Regions from separate parts of the Homo sapiens genome. Here regions 2 and 3 are each linked to region 1. The links are contacts of gene promoters, found by promoter capture Hi-C in blood cells and fetal thymus (Javierre and others, 2016). All regions are on one chromosome and are shown on one strand. Each heading gives the region's core, a stretch centred on a gene start or on the middle of the fragment in contact. The rest is flanking DNA. Distances are from core to core; before and after follow the strand shown. Region 1 holds the start of TXNDC2 (thioredoxin domain containing 2). Region 2 has its middle 7.7 kb from the start of NAPG. Region 3 overlaps NAPG (NSF attachment protein gamma).

What was found. Contacts are between HindIII fragments. The CHiCAGO score rates a contact against its expected background, and 5 or more counts as called.
Region 2: a contact is called between a fragment that was not itself captured here and the fragment with the promoter of TXNDC2 in region 1, in 1 of 17 cell types (naive CD4 T cells). The highest score is 5.1, in naive CD4 T cells.
Region 3: a contact is called between a fragment that was not itself captured here and the fragment with the promoter of TXNDC2 in region 1, in 2 of 17 cell types (naive CD4 T cells and naive CD8 T cells). The highest score is 5.8, in naive CD4 T cells.

Annotation. Positions count from the first base shown.
Region 1 is chr18:9,883,718-9,887,248 of GRCh38, forward strand. It overlaps TXNDC2 (thioredoxin domain containing 2), which reads left to right and starts at 2,256. Exons shown (of 2, transcript NM_032243.6): 1 at 2,256-2,363; 2 at 2,872-3,531. The coding sequence starts at 2,964. The HindIII fragment of the contact is 12,861 bases long and covers 1-3,531 here.
Region 2 is chr18:10,516,518-10,520,131 of GRCh38, forward strand. No RefSeq gene overlaps it. Among named protein-coding and RNA genes, the nearest start is that of NAPG, 7.7 kb to the right of the region's middle. The HindIII fragment of the contact is 695 bases long and covers 1,736-2,430 here.
Region 3 is chr18:10,534,979-10,538,588 of GRCh38, forward strand. All of the region lies in intron 5 of NAPG (NSF attachment protein gamma), which reads left to right. Among named protein-coding and RNA genes, the nearest start is that of NAPG, 11 kb to the left of the region's middle. The HindIII fragment of the contact is 2,853 bases long and covers 865-3,610 here.

The DNA of each region.
Region 1 (3,531 bases), core at 1,006-3,505:
TTGAGAGAGTCTTGCTCTGTTGCTCAGGCTAGAGTGCAGTGGCACCATCTCCGCTCACTGCAACCTCTGCTTCCCAGGTTCAAGCGATTCTCCTGCCTCAGCCTCCTGAGTAGCTGGGATTACAGACATTTGTCACCACATCCGGCTAACTTTCGTATTTTTAGTAGAGATCTAAAATCGCATTTTTAGTAGAGTAGCACATCTGATTAGTATCTGTGCTGGCAATCAACCTGGAGAAAGGAGGCCGGGACACAGGCATCTGTCCTCTTGCCTCCACATCTACTGGGATGGCAGGAGTGATGTTTTCACTTCTGCCTCTCAGCGATGGAGTTCCTCTGTGTCCTCATCCACTCCCTTCCAAACAGCAGGGACCCTGTACAAGATAGGGTCCCAGGAAGTAAATTAACTTACCAATGAGCAAGGGCCAAAGATGCTGCCCACTTTGTGCTAATAAAATCTGCTCATGATGGTTTCTGCAAATGATGCCTATCCTCCCCGCTTCACCTCCTTTCTCCTAACACTAAGAAAGAAGACATTGCCCAGATAAGTGCCTGACGTTTATTTTCATCCTCTGCTTTAAAATAGGGCACCATGAAAAACAGTCCTGTCAGCTGTGGAAGCCGTTGGCATTGGAGAGTGAAGACAACCTCCCGTCCTTTAAAATATCACATAAGAAAGGCCCAAAGTCTCCCAGTGAGAGAGGGAAGAGCTTTCTTTGGCAGTAACCGAGGAAACGGAGTGGAAGCATGAGCTCTTCCTGGAACAGGATTCATATCATCAAGAACTACGGATTTGCTGGGCCAGGCATGGTGGCTCACGCCTGTAATCCCAGCAATTTGGGAGGCTGAGGCAGGTGGATCGTTTGAGGTCAGGAGTTAGAGACCAGCCTTGCTAACATGGTGAAACCCTGTCTCGACTAAAAAAAATACAAAAATTAGCCGGGTGTGGTGGTGAATGCCTGTAATCCCAGCTACTCGAGAGGGTGAGGCAAGAGAATTGCTTGAACCTGGGAGATAGAGGTTGCAGTGAGTCGAGATTGTGCCACTGCACTCCAGCCTCGGTGACAGGGCAAGACTGTCTCAAAGAAAAAAAAAAAAGGAACTATGGATTTGCTAAGGCCAATAGTCTCTCTACCCCTTAGTAAAATGTGTTTTGGTATAAAAATCCAGATAATTGAACCATTGCCATTAGATGTTTCGAGGTTTCTATTGACAATGTGGAGGTCTTATCATTTAGATTTCAACACTTTTATTTTTAGTTTTTAGAGACGGGGCCTTGCTCTGTTGCCCAGGCTAGAGTACGATGTAGTGATCACGGCTCACTGCAGTCTTGAACTCACTGGCTCAAGCAAGCCTCCCACCTCAGCTTCCCAAGTAGCTGGGACAGGCGTGTGCCACTGTGCCTGGCTAGGTTTTGTATTTTTTGTAGAGATGGGGTCTTGCTATGTTGCCTAGGCTGATCTCAAACTCCTGGGCTCAAGAAATCCTCCCACCTTGGCCTCCCAAAGTACTGAGATCACGGTGTGAGCCACCATGCCTGACCACTTTCAACACTTATATTGTTGGGGTGAAACTGAAACATATGAGGATTTGTTCAAAGTACATGTAGAGAAGGCAAAATTCCACACTGATTCTTCCTGCCTTGGACTGGATGTGTTGTGCAGAGTGAGGGTGGAAAATGAGCCAGTGGTCCTGAACTAATAAAATAAGTCTCCCTGGGGGACAGGTATTTGGCTTCCCATTCCACAGGATGGGGTAGATGTGGCTTATGGAACCAGGATTATTCACAAAGAGGTTGTTCTCCTGTATGTAAAGGCTGGAAGAGCCGTGTACTTGGATGTGTCTGCATGGGGGAGGGCACAGGCTGGGCTGGTGCGCCTGGGAGGTGGGGGAGGTGGGGAAAGAGGCTGTCTAGCAGGAGCTGAACATTTGACATTGTGGGACACTTTGCAGAGGAGGCTAACATGGTTTCGAGGAGATACTTAGGAGCTGGTCACAATGGGTGAGTCGTAAAGAGAATGTTGGAGCTGGGGGATCCTGGAGAAAGATGATAAGATGGTTGATTCACAGAACCCAGGCTGGACGGGACTTGTGGCGAGCAGTCCAGCACAGCCTCACAGTGCAGAGCATGAGCTTTGGAGCCTGCCCCCACCCTAGCTTTGTGACCTTAAGTGAGCTACATAGCTTCTCATGTGTAAACTACTCATCATAATGGTTCTGACCTCAGTGGTTTGTTGTGTTCTAGGAAATGATGCCAGTGAATGCGTAGTCCCAGCCTCAGCACAGGGGAGCCACCTTGAAGCTCTCAAATATCACTGTTGTGAATACAGAGAGGGAAAACCAACTGTAACGTGCCACCCAAATGTAAGTTTTACTCATATTTTGATGTTAGGATGGATAGCTTGGAAAAAGTTGGAGGGTACGGCCTTTACTATGAGGCATCTATGAAGGATCAGGAATGGATGTAGACAAGGAACTAGGAATGGAAAGTGTTAAAGCTGGAGCCTCTGGAAAACCAGAAATGAGGCTGGGCACTCAGGAAGAAACAAGTGAAGGTGATGCTAATGGTAAGTAGGGGAGGAAAGAGGGTTGCCTTAAAGACCTATGCAGTTAGGGAGCGGGCAGGGTGTTGAACCAAGAAGGGAAAGTTGTAGCTTAAGAACATGTATACAGAAGATACGTGTAACCACACGCTGTTTGTCCTTCTGCTGAATGAGTTTTTCAGATTAATACATCATTCATCAGACTTCATTCGTGATCTCGAAGAGTGACATCAGTCTTCCTTGGAATATGAAGAGAATTTCTTTGGTTCTTCTTTTGCATTTCTATTTGATTTATTTTATTTTATTTTATTTTATGTTTTTTGGTACAGAAAGCTCATTACTAGTCCTGTCCAGCAACGTGCCTCTCCTGGCCCTAGAGTTCTTGGAAATAGCCCAGGCCAAAGAGAAGGCCTTTCTCCCCATGGTCAGCCACACGTTCCACATGCGCACAGAGGAGTCTGATGCCTCACAGGAGGGCGATGACCTACCCAAGTCCTCAGCAAACACCAGCCATCCCAAGCAGGATGACAGCCCCAAGTCCTCAGAAGAAACCATCCAGCCCAAGGAGGGTGACATCCCCAAGGCCCCAGAAGAAACCATCCAATCCAAGAAGGAGGACCTCCCCAAGTCCTCAGAAAAAGCCATCCAGCCCAAAGAGAGTAACATCCCCAAGTCCTCAGCAAAACCCATCCAGCCCAAGCTGGGCAATATTCCCAAGGCCTCAGTGAAGCCCAGCCAGCCCAAGGAGGGTGACATCCCCAAGGCCCCAGAAGAAACCATCCAATCCAAGAAGGAGGACCTCCCCAAGTCCTCAGAAGAAGCCATCCAGCCCAAAGAGGGTGACATCCCCAAGTCCTCAGCAAAACCCATCCAGCCCAAGCTGGGCAATATTGCCAAGACCTCAGTGAAGCCCAGCCAGCCCAAGGAGAGTGATATCCCCAAGTCCCCAGAAGAAACCATCCAGCCCAAGGAGGGTGACATCCCCAAGT
Region 2 (3,614 bases), core at 833-3,332, 630 kb after region 1:
GCCAGGTTGGTGGCAGATTGACTAATCAGGAAGAGCAAGTTGTCCAGCAGGCCGGGCTAGAGAAGGTGTTGACAGCAGCCAGGATGGGGAGCAGTGGACTTCAGCAGGAGAGGTTAAGGAATCTTGGGATTCTGAATCCTTCAAGTTCGCTCCATTGAAAGTACTTTATTTCCTAATATTATCAGTGTCTCAATGGTCCCGAGATGTCTACAATCATCATTAGAAGTGTCTCCTAAATACCTGTGCCCCAAAGAGAAGGTCACTTGGGAGTAGGGAGACCATAAGTGCTTGAGAGGCTCTCAACCTGGCTGGACTGCTCTCCGTGCAGTCTGGACATCAACAGCTACATTCAAAGATCTCTTAGGTCACCTTGCCTTCTGTAAACCCAATTGTGCTTAGTTGCCTACTGAGTTTAGGTAACCAGGGAGATTTATAGGGGAGGAAAAAATACAAGAACAAGGTGGAGCTGCAATGTTTCTGGAATGCAGGGACAGCATGTCTCGTTTACTGAGAGGACACATGTTTAACGGCAGTGCAGGCACTGGCAGGGTTTTAGTGGCTCTCCTGCACCTGACTGGCTTGGGCTAGGAAGGATTTGCCATCCCAAAGCCCGTGTACTCCCACGCAAGTCAGCTGTGAGGGATTTCAATGCCTTCTGTGAGCTCAGAAAGGATTCTCTGATCACATTTCTAATAAACGCTCTTGTGGGAAGATCATGAGAACAACAGTACAAATGATGGCTCCTATTTACTGAATGTTCCCTATGTGTCCATTCTGTGTAGGCGCCTTGGAGGTATTATTTGTAAAACTGACAGTAGCTCCACAACATAAGCATTTAGTATGTTTATCTATTGCTGCTTAACAAGCCATCTCAAAGCTCAATGGATTAAAACAGTATTATTGTATCTCCTGATGATGTGGATGGAAAATTTGGACAGGGCACAGTCAGAGGAGCTCCACTCAGCTTCACGGTTGGAAGCTTTGCTGGGACGGCTCTAATGGCTGCAGCTGGGAGATGCGGGGCAGCTGGCCATTGCTTCTCTGCTCATAGACCTCTACCGGGGTGGCTTGAGCTTCCTCACATCATGGCAGCCTCAAGGGAGTTGCACTGTTCAGGGTTCCAAGAGCTATTTCATGTTTTGAGAGATGGGAAGTGGGAGCTGCCTGTGCCTTGAAGATTGGGCCCTGAGACTGGCACAGTATCACATCCTTGTTCTTTTGGTCAAAGCAGTCACAAAACCCACCTGCATTCAAGAGGATGGGACAGAGTCCCCCTCTCAATGGAAGAGGGTCAGAGATTTGGCTGCCATTTTTAATCCACCACATTATTATTCTTCCCATTTTATAGGAGAAGAAACTGAAGCTCAAAGAAACCAGATAATATATGTCTTTAAATAACATAAGAAATACTGCTGAGGTTTGAAAGTATGACTGACTCTAATCCATTTTTCTTTCTAGTATACAGCCCCGCTCTCTTAAAATGTGGACATTTGATCTTCTAAGATAAGACTTTTTGAGCCACAAGCTACTCTTCTGATTGGATGTAGAACAAAACATAGCAAGTCATCGTCCACGTTCTTTCTAAACTTTGCATCGTTGAATGAAGAGGCCCTATCTAATAAGCTGTAGAACTGAACACTCCTCTTCAGTTTGAGAGGCTGTTCAAGGTAAAAGAGAGGGAAAAATGGAAGTGAATAAAATCACAAATTTAAACGATAAATACCTGGCTTGGGGAAGCTTTTTTCCCCAGAGGATAGAAATATATTTACATTATGAAATAAGTTGGAATCCAATGGAAACCCCTTGTTATTATTAGATTTCCTCTTGAGAAGGATTTATAAATGAAAACACAACTTGCTATTTTAGTATTTTGTTTTTCAGGGAAGAAAAACCCTTTGCAAAAACAAATTTAGAAGAAAAAACTTATCCATTTCAAGCTCTTGTTTATTTTCTTATTTACCAGGCTAAAACTGTCTTCTTTCATCTCTGATTATGTTGGGAGCTGGAGAAAAGAGGGTTTTTATTTTGTTTTGTTTGCTTTTTTCCTTTTCTCTAAATCTGGAAGGTCTCTTTTCATTTGTGGGCAGTGCTAAACCTTTCCTTATCCACAACTGCGTTTCTGAATCCACAGCCTCCTCCAGCCGTAACTGTGACCCAAGGGCTCCACGCAGTGGGGGATAGGAAATGAAGGATGAGGGCAGTCACATGTGAAACGGCTGCAGTGTTCATCTGTGATCTGGTGGCCCCACTGAACAACAGTGGCCATGACCCCGCTGTGCACCTGCTAGCACACAGCTCCATGCTCCTTTGCCATGTGTCCCTCCATTAGGCTGTGATTCCTCCTCCTCAGCTCCACAGGAATCTGGAAAATAAGGGTCCTGTGGCTGCTTTTGCAATCCTAGTACACTTTGAGAACGTCATGTTCCAGTAAGCTTTATATAACGTTCTAGACCATTAGAGCCTTTTCAGCTTCCTTATTAACATTTATTCATTTCTAATTACACGAGTAGAGGGAAGTTGCAAGAAATGTGTCCCTGAAGATTTTCAAACTTAATGCAACCATTGCATAATTTTAATCCAATCTTCACAAAGGGAGTCATGTGTTGCTTTTCTAGCCAAGTCACCCTTGGCCCCTGCAACCTCGTCACCTCCCCATTCTCCCCTGGAATGTGGGGCCAGGCGCCCGCATACTCTGCCTCACAAATTTGCTATTCCTTCTTTATCGGCAACTATCTTTGTCCAGATATCCCAGGTCTCAGGCCACCACTCCTTCAGAGCTTTATTTCATTGTCACCTACCTGGTGAAGAAACTCACCCCACACTCACGGGTGCCCTCCCATTCCCACATCCTGCTTTGTTTTCCTGAGTGTTGACCCCCTCTAGCACTGTGTCTACACCGCCTTAGCCAGTTTCCTACTGGACTCCACAACCCCACCCATATGCCCTGTGCTAGAATGTCAGCTCTGTGAATCCCTGCTGCATTCAGGGCTGTCTCCCAGAGCCTAGAACAGTGCCTGCATGGAGAAACCATTCCACACATACTTGTTGAATGAGTGCCTAAAGAATGAATAGCATAAACCCAGTCCACAGCTCTTTATTCCTGGCAGCTTCCAAACGTGCACTTCTTGAGGAATTCTTAATTTGGAAGACATGTTATTTAAAAAAATTCATTAATGCAGTTTGTGAATGAGTAATTCACAAACTTCATTAATGAGTCATGTTTTATGTTGTATTCTTTCAATTTTGCCTACTTTATATTTGTACAAAATGTAACTGCGTGAATATATCCTCCTTGAAAGAAAATGATTGCTGTATATCTATGGGATGTGGTTTTCAAGAGAGAACATTTATAGGTTGGCACTAGGCTATCTGCAAGTGGTCTAATGAAATACATGACGGGTTTCCACTAAGCCAATTCAGTGTGTTGGTTTTATCTTTTATTCAAAGATAGCTTGCAAAGGAAGATCTGTATTTTTCTCTCTCTTTAAAAATAATATTCATCAAAACGGTTGTGTTCGTTAGAGTGGATTTAACAGAGATCTGTTGTTAAACATTTACAATGCTTCATCTCTTTCCAACATTACTGTACTCGGACAATGCTGCCTCACTTTGTG
Region 3 (3,610 bases), core at 1,041-3,540, 650 kb after region 1:
TGCCACTGTTTGTACTTCTGCTCCTCAAAAGCAGGCCAGGAATTAATGTCCTGCTGTGGTGAGACAGAACATACTACTTTATGATGCTGACTTTCAAAGTATGCCAGCTGGCAGTTGAAATGAAGTATTTGTCTTTCTTTTTTAAAAATGTTTTTTTCTAAAATGGTAAAAGCTACTTTCAAGTATTTATTATAAAGCTTTGTTTTTAAGAACTTTTACCTTAGTAAAGCTTTTGTTTTTAATTTCTATGACTTTTATAATGTGAACTTACTCATTTTTTTAGTGAACACATGCTCATTGTAGACAATAAAAAATACCGAAAAGTTAAAGAATGTTAGTAATAGCTGTTAACATACTTAGTTTAAAAGATTTTATAGTCTTTGACCCAGGAATTTCAATTCTGTGAGTCTATCATCGAGAGAGAGAGATCAAAGATTTATGCATCAGGTTGTTTCTTGAAGAAATGCCAATTATCTAAATTTTGAATAATAGGAAAGTGAGGTTGGATGTAGTGGCTCATGCCTGTAATCCCAGCACTTTGGGAGGCCAACGTGGGTGGATTACCTGAGATCAGGAGTTCGAGACCAGCCTGGCCAACATGGTGAAACCCTGTCTCTTCTAAAAATACAAAAATTAGCTGGGCATGGTGGCGGGCGCCTGTAATCCCAGCTACTTGGGAGGCTGAGGCAGGAGAATTGCTTGAACCCAGGAGGCAGAGTTTGCAGTGAGCCGAGATCGTGCCATTGCACTCCAGCCTGGGCAACAGAGCGAGACTCTGTCTCAAAGTAATAATAATAATAGGAAAGTGTTTAAATAAATTATGATGCTTCCTTATTATAAACTATTATATATCCATTGAAATAAAGCTTTTCTGGCCAAACATGCAACTGAATTGGTATTTGGTGCCGCAAGTTAGGTTATTAACCACAGTTCCTTTGAAACCATAGAGTTTCTCTTACGGCCAAAGAAGCTGGGGATCTGCTCTGGTCTTCTTATGTCTCATTTTCCTCTGAGAATTAGGAAGCTCCCAGGTGGCTGTTACATTCTTAGTGTACTTCATGCCTGTTTAAGAAATGCTCAAACACTCTAATTCTCACAGCCTCAGTTTATATTACAACAGCTGTACTAAGACTTGAATCTTCATCAAAAGTTATTATTCAGGCATCATTTCCATTGCTCAAGTATCTATTTAATTTGAGGGTTGGAAAGGCACTACTTTGAATGAAAGAAAATTAACTTAGTGGATAGGGAAACAGATGAAGGAAAATGCTTTCTGGCATTGTCTTATATTTAAATTAAATGCCTTTGGACACTGTTGGGAGCACAGGACCCCTGAGCTACGTGGTCCACAATTCTGTGGGCTAAAATTTCTACCAATTTGTCATACAAACCTTCACACTGATTCACCAGAAAGGCTTGGGGAGTGCCATTTTGTAGACATATGCACAAGGGAAGCCACAGAAACTTGTTGGATCAACCTTTGGTTCTGTCACTTGATGACTGCTGTGATTTCATATCCTGTTTGCTCCACTGGCACACAGCCATTGAAAATAGGCATATTTATGGTGGAGGGTATAACTTTCAAGTAGGCAGCTCATCATTTTTTATGGAGAAGTATCAATATTGTGGTTGGACCTCTTACTCACAGCCTCACTTGATTTTACGCAAAAACAGGAAGATGTAGTTGCTAATTTTTAAACAACAAATAGGACTCGGATGCCATTTTTACTGCCTTCTAATGTATTTTTTGCTCTATCTACTGGGTAAAACTCATGACGAATAGTTCCTGTGGTTTTTTTATCCTCCCAAATGCTTTTATGTTGTAGATTCACATTATATATGTAATTAGTGGGTAGGTATATTTGGGGAGGAAATACAGTTGACCCTTGAACTACCCAAGGGTTGGGATGCCAACCCCTTGTGCAGTTGAAACTCTACATATAACTTTTTACTCCCCAAAAACTTTACTAATAGCCTGTTTTTGTTTTTTTTTTTTGAGACAGGATCTTGCTCTGTTGCCCAGGCTGGATTGCAGTGGCACAATCATGGCTTACTGCAGCCTCAACCTCCTGGGCTCAGGCGATCCTCCCACCTCAGCCTCCTGAGTAGCTGGGACTATAGGTGCATGTCACCATGCCCTGCTAATTTTTTAATTTTTTTGGTAGAGACTGGTTCTCGCTGTTTTTCCCAGGCTGGGCTCAAACTCCTGGGCTCAAGTGATACTTCTGCCTCAACCTCCCAAAGTGCTGGGATTATAGGCGTGAGCCACTACCCTACTACTGACTGGAAGTCTTATAAATAATATAAACAGTCAGTTAGTACATATGTTGTATGTTGTATGGAATATGTTTTATACTGTATTCTTAGAATAAAGCTAGAGAAAAGAAAATATTAAGAAAATCGTAAGGAAGAGAAAATATATTTAGTGTTCTTTAAGTGGAAGTAGAGCATCATAGGGCTCTTCATCCTCATCATAGTCTTCACGTTTGGGCTGAGGAGGAGGAAGAGGAGGAGGAGGAAGAAGAGGGGTTGGTTTTGCTGTCTCAGGTGGCAGAGGAGCAAGACAGTCTGCGTATAATTGGACCAGCACAGTTTAAATCTCTGCTGTTCAAGGTTCAGTTGTATTCTTTAAAAGCCAAAATGACCCTCAGGACTAATGTGTCTGAGAGAGATTTTGTTAGGTTTACCTCCCCTGTTCATTCAGATATTTTTCAGCAGATATTGTAGACTCGGATTCTTTCATTGACTTTTGGTTTTATAACAAAAAAAGTATTGTTTTTATTTTTTCACTGAGGTTTGGAAATGCATTAGCATTTCATTCTGCTTGAGTGAATGATAGCAGTCTTATTTCATACAGTGTCTTTCAGTCTGTGTTATTGTTAGTTTCCATAGCTAAATAATAAAGTTATGTTTTGGGGTTGGCGAAAATGAGACCAGTTTTGTTAAGGGTATCCTAATGAATTTGTCAACTTAGCAAGGGACTGAATAGGCAGATTTGTAAACCACCCATGAGATGTCAGTGTGGAGCCTACCTTAAGATACAGCAAGTCAACACTAAATAAGTTGCTTATGTAAACTTTATAACTAGCTTTTAAACGGTGTTTTTTTTTAAGTTTATTTTTAAAATGTTTGATTTGGAGATATTAGACATTAGGACTGCATGATCCTGAGATGTGTAGATTAATAGTAAGATACAGAATTTATTAGTCATGGAAGAGGGTTGCAAACTCAGATGAACTCAGGGTGTAGAGGAATAACTAAAATGAATGAGCAGCTGGGACGTGGAGGGCATTTGGAAGTGAAGAGCGGGGAGAAGCGCCAGGAGGTGCATGCTCATGTGGCGGGACAGTGCTGCCCAGCCCCAGCCTGTTGCCATACAGGGATGCAAGCCTGCTGATGCCGTAGCTTTTGATATTTTTTTGAAGAAAGCCATAAAACAATTTTCATGAAAGTATCTAATTTAAAAATACTGCATGGATCAAGCAAAACACACTTGGAAGTGAGATAGAGTCATTGGGCTGCCAGTTTGTGATCCTTGGCATAGGTCTTGTATGTAGTAGGGACTTGGTAAATGTTTAAAGAATAAGAAGTGCTTAGAAAACAGTAAAGA